2 separate regions of the Homo sapiens genome follow, and region 2 is linked to region 1. The links are contacts of gene promoters, found by promoter capture Hi-C in human tissues and cell types (Jung and others, 2019). All regions are on one chromosome and are shown on one strand. Each heading gives the region's core, a stretch centred on a gene start or on the middle of the fragment in contact. The rest is flanking DNA. Distances are from core to core; before and after follow the strand shown.

Region 1 (4,201 bases), core at 369-2,868:
TAATAAATAAATAAAAGTTGACATACTCAGCATTTATATTTTAAGTTACCTTGTTTTCCTTTACAGAAAGTCTGAGAGGTAATTTCAGATGAAGAATTTCATTCTTTTTCAGGCTTTCATAGCCAGCAACAAAGACTCCTGGAAAAAGAAGCAGAGGTAGCTGTCACAAATTGTTAGAAAGATTGCAGACCATGCAATCCCCCGAAGTAAGGATACATTCCTTCACTGTGCAGCCTTGTATGGAGGAATTGAGTACCTGGTTGTGTCTTTTTCAGACAAGGTCTCGCTGTGTCAGCCAGGCTGGAGTGCAGTGGTCCGATCACAGCTCACTGCAGCCTCAACCTGCCAGGCTCAAGTGATCCTCCCACCACAGCCTTCAGAGTAGCTGGGATTATAGGCGTGAGCCACCATGCTCGGCTAATTTTTGTATTTTTTGTAGAGACAGGGTTTCCTTGCTTAGGTTAGTCTCAAATTCCTGGGATCAAGCAATCTGCCCGCTGCCTCAGCCTCCTGAAGTGCCCAGCCTGAAGACTTTTTTTGTTAGCCACGCTGGAATACAGTGTCGTGATCTCAGCTCACTGCAACCTCCACCTCCTGGGTTCAAGTGATTCTCCTGCCTCAGCCTCCCCAGTAGCTGCTGGTACACAGGTGTGCACCACCTCGTCCGGCTAATTTTTGTATTTTCAGTAGAGACGGGGTTTCACCATGTTGGCCAGACTGGTCTCGAACTCCTGACCTCAGGTGATCCGCCTGCCTCGGCCTCCCAAAGTGCTGGGATTACAGGCGTGAACCACTGCTCCCGGTCAGAGATCTTAATAAGAGGAATATTAGTGCTGATGGGGCATCAAATTGCTACAAGTGACTCTCAGGTGCCCAGAAGAGTGGGTTGGGTCCCTCTAGGCTTAGCTCCTGAAACCCAGCTCAGGAGTGAGATTCCCTCTCCTTCAGGGCTAGAAAGGTATACCACCTTTGTCATCAATCCATTCAAGGACTCGAGTGGCTCCTGACAGGTCGAATGCATAGAAATCCTGGTACCTGCACAAAAGGGACACAGAATCACACGATGCACAGCACTTCACAGCTCAAAGAACTCCAAGATGGCAGCCGCATGGTTCAGTGGCCCAAACTCTGGAGTCAGGCAGACGTGGGACTGAGTTTACTTCCCATTTTACTCCCTGTTTCTGGGACCAGGCCAGTCCCTTGATGTCCCTGAGCCTCGGTCCTCATGTGTGGACGTCCCAGGGTACCCAGATTTCCCAAGGTTGACGTGAGGAATCAATGAGATCATCTGTGTTCTGAGCTGAACTCAGAGGCTGGCGCAAACTAACTGGGCACTGCGTCTTCACAAGCGCGGCTCTTACTAGTAATCTCACAACGCGCGCACGCAGGAAGGAGCCATTTCCTAGAGATGGGGGCCTAGGCCCAGGCGGAGTCCTCCACGGTGGCGAGCCCCGAGGCCACAGCTGGCCCACTCTGCACCAGGATCCCCAACGTGCCTCCACCCACACCCATCCGCCCGCCAGGCAAGCTCCAGGCCCAGCTCCCATGTCCCAGCCCCGTACGATTTACAAGCGCAAGGATTCCACCAGCCAGTCGTCCCCAGGATCCATGGCAACGACCGCTTCCGGCGTCTCACTTCCGCCTGCGAGCCTTCGGGGGCCGCGCGGCTCTCGCGAGATGTGGGCAGGGCCTCCCGTTAGGGGCGGGGTTAACAGGCTGAGCTGCGGCCCGGCATGGGTGGGTTACGGGTTTTCTCCGCGAAAGCTCCGGGAAAAGTGACCTGAAATCGGGACTTTCCCGCTGTCAGCTCCAAGCAGGACCTGAGGACCAAATGATCGCCCGTTTTAGGGCCAGGTGTTTGCAGCCCAAGAGAGGGGCAATGAATGCTCCAAGGCCAGAAATAATACAGGACCGCCCGGTTAAATTCGAATTTCAGAAAAACGGTGAATAATTTCTTTCTTACGAGTATGTTCATGCAATATTTGGTACATTTTATTAGATAAAATTATTGTTTATCTGAAATTCGAATTTAACTGGGTGTCCAGTATTTTTATTTGCTAACGCTGGCAACCCTTCTGACGGCCAGAGAAGAGAGGAAGCGGCCGGCAGGGTCTGGATCCCAACTCGGCGCTCCCCTCCAAGTCCGGCGGGGGTATTGAGTAAAGCCCGGCAGTGTAGTGTCTGCAGCCCCCTTTTACTAGCGAGGAAACTAGTGACACTTGCCTGCGCCAGTAGGTGGCAGAGATGAGAGTAGAACCCCGCGCCTGGCACGAAGCCTGGCATGCAACAGGCGTTATTTGCTTGCTGAATGAATGGGTAGGAGGCCAGAGTCAGTGCCAGGCTGGTGCCATGGCATGGGGTATTCTGGACTTTTTGAGCCAGCCCCATCTCACTGAACACTCTGCCCTCCAGCCCCCTTTTCCTCCCATCCCCTAAAAGACGGGTGAAAGGAGAGGACCAGGCATTGTATGTAAAGAGCAAGGTTTTATTCACCAATTCAACAGGGAAGCAGGAAATACAGCAGGAACATAATCTGTGTCTGCATCAGCGATATTTCTGGTGACCCAGCCAGAAATCACAGTAATGGAGTAACAGAGATTTGAGCTCAGGATTTACATCCAGATGGGGCCATCAACAGGGTCCCATTCAGCACCTTCCCTGGGTGGGCACAATCTAAGCCACGCTGTTGTGTCTGCCCCATTATTGGTGTCATTTCTGCAGTATTTGTACCAGCAGCCTCCTGTACTGAAGAGAAACATACAGAAGAATTGAGCCAGGGAGGGGCTCCTGATAAAGATAGGGGCATCCTGCCATTCCTAAGTGCCAGATGTCTGCAGAGGTGGGCACCAGCAGGCTGTCAGCTGAGGCAGGCCCCAGAGCACCCTGAATTGCCTTGGAGGGGTCGGGGCAGTAGTTTTCTCAGAACACAGCCCCAACCACCCAGGGTGGTCATGACAGTCAAAGAAGATCGTGGAAGAAAATCCAAATACAGTGCTTGGTGCTGGGCTAGTGTCAGCGTCCTCACTCCCCCACCCCAGCTCTGCCCCAGACCTCACTCTGAAGCCCCAGACGTAGGCACTGCTGCTTCTGAGATTCTCTAGTTGGTCTGCATGTGTCAGAGCTTCAAAACCAAGGGCATTAGAGGTGACATTGTTTCCCTTCAGACTCAGCCAGCCCAAGCTCCTAGGCCTTACATCTGAGGTCCTCAGGGGCTGCTGGTTCTGTGCCTCAGGAAGTCAGGGATGTTGGTTGAGGCTGGGTTGGACCTTTTCTAGGGAATGCCTCTCCCTTCAAAATGCACACACTATATGCTAGGCACACTGGGGGATATGAAGGCGAGTCTACAACAGGTGCCGCCAGGGAGCTCACAGACTGATAAGAGCTCGCATCTACTAAGGGCTGTCTATGAGCCAGGCACCATGCTGAGCATTTGACATAAATGGTCTCATTTAATGGGAGATGGGCCTTATTATCTTCATTTTATGGGTGAAGAATATTGAGGCTTTAGAGAAGTTAAGGGACATTTCTAAGGTCATACAGCTACTAAGTAGCTAGGTTATGAGCCCAGCACGTTGTAGTCAAAACCCACATTCTACCACATCACACTGCCTTCTGCACACAGCAGCAGGACCAGGGAGGGTGGTGTGCAGTAAGGACAGCACCAGGAGCAGGGAATGAAGGAGTTGCCACTCAGCGGGGCTATACCTTGAGGCTAGCTTGGCTCCAGCTTTGGAGTCTTGAATCCCATAGATCAGTGACTGACAACCAATAATGATTTGGGGCCCTCTCCCCCAGCAGACATCTGGTGATGTCTGGAGGTCTTTTCAGTTGTCACAACTTGATGGGGGGGAAAGATGCTACTGGCATCTAGTATGTAGAGACCAGGGATGCTGCCAAACATCCCATGATGCACACGTCAGCCCTCACAAGAAACAGTGATTCAGCCTAGAACGTCAAATGTACTGAAGTTGCTAAACCCTACCACTGGATACTGAGGCAGATGAGAGAATGGGAAGAGCTCCAGTCCAGGTGAACAAGGTCCAGACTCTGTCTTGGCTGCTGACTTCTCTTTCCCTCTCTGGGCCTCAGGGTCCCATTCCGGCCACAAGCATACACAGGACACAGCAAAGGTGGACTTGACTAATGCAGCAGGGAACAGCATGGGTGGGACAAGACTGTGTAGACTGGGGGAGAAAGGTCC
Region 2 (4,479 bases), core at 545-3,044, 410 kb after region 1:
AGTTGCATCAGACATATTCTGCCAGTGCAATATTGTCTAGGTGGGGAAACAGATTCCTGGTGCTTCTTACTCTACTGTCTTCTCTAAATCCATCTTTTAAGACTCTCCTGTGGACCTCTTGGACCATCTTCCCTCATAAAAATTCTGGCTTTGGCATCCAGTTACACCAGTATGAGACTGGCCCATAGTTACACAACTCAAGAGAATAGGTAATAACCATGCACTGTCTGTTCTGACTCTTTCACCCTACTGAAGAATCTTCCTCCTCAGTCTTTGGTCTAGAATATTAGGGACCCTCATTCTTTTTATGCCTTCTGAGAGATAAAATTATTGCAGAGCAATGCAGAAACTGAGCCAGTGGCCCATAATTACTAGACATCAGCTTCTCATGGTTAAAAATATATGTGGATTTTTCTCCCATCACTAAGCAAACTTCGTAATGTGTTTACTAGAATAGGTCACTGTTTGAGGGGAGAGATTGGAGGAGGGCAGTCAGTTGGGAAACATTTTGTAGGAAGTCTTATGGATCTAGTTCTTCTGTTGCTGTGACGAATCATACCATCACACAGAGGCCCAGATTGGGATCTCATCAACACCTACAGAGTCACTGGGCAAATTACAAAATGTGTCTCTTCCCCTGGGTAGCAGCCCAGTGCCAGAATTCATCACCTGGAGCTGGTTTTCAGTCCCACCTTCTCCCTTCCTTGGGCCCCTTTGTGTTGTATACAGGCTATTCAAATCTTCTGGTGGTCCTGAGTTTACAGCACAGTGTATGGAGCTAAACAAACCTGGGTGGAATCCCAGCACTACCACTTGCTGTGTGGTCTTAATGCAGGGTACTTAGAACTTCAGTTTTCTAGCTATAAACTCTCACCACATTACTATCAGATTCAGTGAAATAACATGTGCAGCCCTTAGCACAGTAACCAGAACACACTAAGTCTTCCATTGGTGCTGTGATTGTTATTACTCACTGGGGTTTGGTTATGATATTACATTTATCTTTGATTTAGCATTACATTCTCAAATGGATAAGTACTTACAGTAAGTGCTATTATGCTCCTCTGTAAAATAGAAAGTGTCAACCATTTTTCAATGACATTCCATGGTTCTGACTGCTGGATTGCATTATTCATGTGCCATTTGGGTGTAAGATTTCATTGTCCATCAGGAAAAAAATGGAAATAGGCACAGAGGGAATCAGCGTTTATTTAGTATCTATTATTGGGGGGCTCTCTATATTGTCATCTCATTTGGCCTTTAACAAATGAGAAGTTGAGGCTGAGGAAGATTAATTCACTTAAAGTCACATGTAGCTAGTAAAAGGCAAAGCCAGAATCACATTCATTTTATTTGTTCATTTTATTTCTCCTTTCCTGCTCCCCACTTTTCCTGGGGGCTATAAGGAGATCCTTAGGATTCCTCATAATCATTTCATTTATCTACTATTTACTTTATTTGCCTCTAGAATAGAAATTTTGCTTTCATTTTTGGCACTGTTTAGAGAGAGAAAAAGTTAAGCTTCTCTTTCTCCGTTGTCTTTTCATTTTTAAGCCAATCTCTTTCTTACAGGTAGCAGTAGCTGATGTGCAGTTTGGCCCCATGAGATTTCATCAAGATCAACTTCAGGTAATAATGAACGATGCTGTATTTTTCACATGCTGATTTTCTTTAAAAAGGGTGGAGGTGGAGCTAAATTTACACATTTAAAATAGTCTTTCATTTAGATAATAGTGTTTGGACCAATGTTAAATTCCCTGAACTCTGTAACAGTATTATAGTTATATAAGAGAATATCCTGTTCTTAGAAATACACATTGTGGTGTTTAGAGATGAAGAAGTGTTTGTAGCCTACTTTCATTGGTTCAGCAATAGGTCAGGCACGGTGGCTCATGCCTATAATCCCAGCACTTTGGGAGGCTGAGGCAGTAGGATCTCTTGAGCTTGAGGAGTCCTTGAGGAGTTTGAAACCAGCCTGGGCAACATAGGGAGACCCAGTTTCTGCAACAACAGCAACAATAAATTAGATGGACATGGGGGTGTGTGTGCCTGTGGTCCCAGCTACTTGGAAGGCTGAGATGGGAGAATCACCTGAGCCCGGGAGGTCAAGGCTGCAGTGAGTCATGATCACACCATTGCACTGCAGCCTGGGCAACAGAGTGAGACCCTGTCTCAAACAAACAAAAGAAAAAAAATTGGTTCAGCAATAAATAAAAAATGTGTATAATTGTATGTATGTACATGTATGTGTTTAGAGAGAGAGAGAAAGCAAAGCAAAGGTGGCAAAATGTTAATTGATGAATGTAGAGAAAGGGCATGTTTAGTGTTCATTTTCATTCACGTTTCTGTAGATTTGAAATTTTCCAATATAAAAAGTAAAAAGATTGTCTTTTCAATGTTGCTGAATCAGCTCTGTCAGAGAGAAGATATCTGTAATTTATCTAATTCAAAATATGAGACAGAAAACAACCAATTGATGAACAATGAGATCACATGGACACAGGAAGGGGAATATCACACTCTGGGGACTGTGGTGGGGAGGGGGGAGGGGGGAGGGATAGCATTGGGAGATATACCTAATGCTAGATGACGAGTTAGTGGGTGCAGCGCACCAGCATGGCACATGTATACATATGTAACTAACCTGCACAATGTGCACATGTACCCTAAAACTTAAAGTATAATTAAAAAAAAAAAAAAGAAAACAACCAATTGAAATTCAGCGAAGTTATCCATGCTCCCCGCACATGAACATGTTTCATTCACTATTACATTTAAAAATATATGAGAAGTGCTGACAGAAATGTGTGCTCTTAGTTCTTTGCATGTATGGTCTTTGTGTAGTTGAGTAAACTCGGAAGAAATAAGCCTTAGGAGGGTTTCTGATAGCTTTGCAGTCTGTTTCACAGGCTGCCCATCTCCTCCTTACCACTGTTGCCCCATTTTCAGTCTGCTTCTGAAGGGATGGAGCACGGGTGCTCCTGAACCAGATTGGGAGTGGGAATAGCAGGGAGAGAGAGGGAAGGAGGCTGGCTGGATAAGGAAGACGCTATGGATACAGGCCTCGCTTGCTCCAGGCCAGGACTGACGTGATTGGGGCAGCCAGCCACTGTCCTGGGCAGAGGCACAGATGCTACCTCTTGCACCTGGTGACTGTGTCACTTAACTGATAGGCTTTGAAGTGTCACATTTTGGTCTACTTTAAATCTTTCTTCTTTTAATCAAAGCAATTTTTTTTTTAACTTGGAGGAATTACATAAAATCTTGAGTCAAACATTTCAATACATTATTTATAGGATTAAGTATTCTAATAATTTCACCAAGATATTAGCATTCACCATCTGAGAACTTACCCAGTTAACTTTCTTTCAGCTAAAATAAATATTAATGTGTTTTAATTCTTTTAGTTTCAAGATAAAATGCTTAACTAAATCTTTGTTGAGTTCTGCCAGTGGGTTTCTTAGCAAAAAAGTAGGCATATGGCCAGGTGCAGTGGCTCACACCTGCAATCCCAGCACTTTGGGAGGCCACAGCAGGTGGATCACTTGAGTCCAGGAGTTCTAGACTAGCCTGGGCAACATGGAGGGACCCCATCTCTACTGAAAATACAAAAATTAGCCGGGCATGTGGTGGCGCACACCTGTAATCTCCCAGCCACTGGGGGCTCTGAGGTACAAGAACACTGGAACCCTGGAGGTGGAGGTTGCAGTGAGCTGACATCACACCACTGTACACCAGCCCATGCAACAGAGGAAGACCCTGTTGCCCACCCACCATCCCCCCAAAACACACACACACACACACACACACACACACACACACACACACACACACACACACACACAGAAATGACGATTCTGACCAGGCGCGGTGGCTCACGCCTGTAATCCCAACACTTTGGGAGGCTGAGGTGGGAGGATTACTTGAAGCCAGGAGTTCGAAATCAGCCTGGCCAACATGGCAAAACCCCGTCTCTACTAAAAATACAAAAATTAGCTGGGCATGGTGGCATGTGCCTGTGGCCCAACTACTCGGCAGGGCTGAGGTGGGAGAATCACTTGAACCTGGGAGGCAGAGGTTGCAGTGAGCCAAGATCATGCCATTACACTCCAGCCTGAGCAACAGAGCAAGACTCTGTCTCAAGAAAAAAAAAGTGTAAGAAATGACAATTCTAACATCTTTTTTTAAAAAAAGTGTTTGTGCTCTTTTGATTCAGGTACTTTTAGTGTTTACCAAAGAAGATAACCAATGTAATGGATTCTGCAGGGCATGTGAAAAAGCAGGGTTTAAGTGTACAGTTACCAAGGAGGCTCAGGCTGTCCTTGCCTGTTTCCTGGACAAACATCATGACATTATCATCATAGACCACAGAAATCCTCGACAGCTGGATGCAGAGGCACTGTGCAGGTAAGCCCAAGACTCGGGCCTAAATAGTCCCATTGGCCTTTCTGACAATACATGCAGCCTAGAAATAGATTA

What was found. The method cuts DNA at HindIII sites, captures the fragments that hold promoters and counts their contacts. A contact is called where the count stands out against the background at its distance.
Region 2: a contact is called between a fragment that was not itself captured here and the fragment with the promoter of WDR73 in region 1, in 2 of the 25 tissues and cell types used here (adrenal gland and hippocampus).

The regions. Positions count from the first base shown.
Region 1 is chr15:84,652,665-84,656,865 of GRCh38, forward strand. WDR73 (WD repeat domain 73) reads right to left here and starts at 1,619. Exons shown (of 8, transcript NM_032856.5): 1 at 1,570-1,619; 2 at 968-1,035; 3 at 50-138. The coding sequence starts at 1,610. NMB (neuromedin B) reads right to left here. Exons shown (of 3, transcript NM_021077.4): 3 at 2,468-2,745. The coding sequence ends at 2,710. RefSeq lists enhancers at 972-1,939, 1,366-1,605. The HindIII fragment of the contact is 11,541 bases long and covers 1-4,201 here.
Region 2 is chr15:85,062,798-85,067,276 of GRCh38, forward strand. PDE8A (phosphodiesterase 8A) reads left to right here. Exons shown (of 22, transcript NM_002605.3): 2 at 1,573-1,629; 3 at 4,217-4,407. Among named protein-coding and RNA genes, the nearest start is that of PDE8A, 83 kb to the left of the region's middle. The HindIII fragment of the contact is 4,507 bases long and covers 1-4,048 here.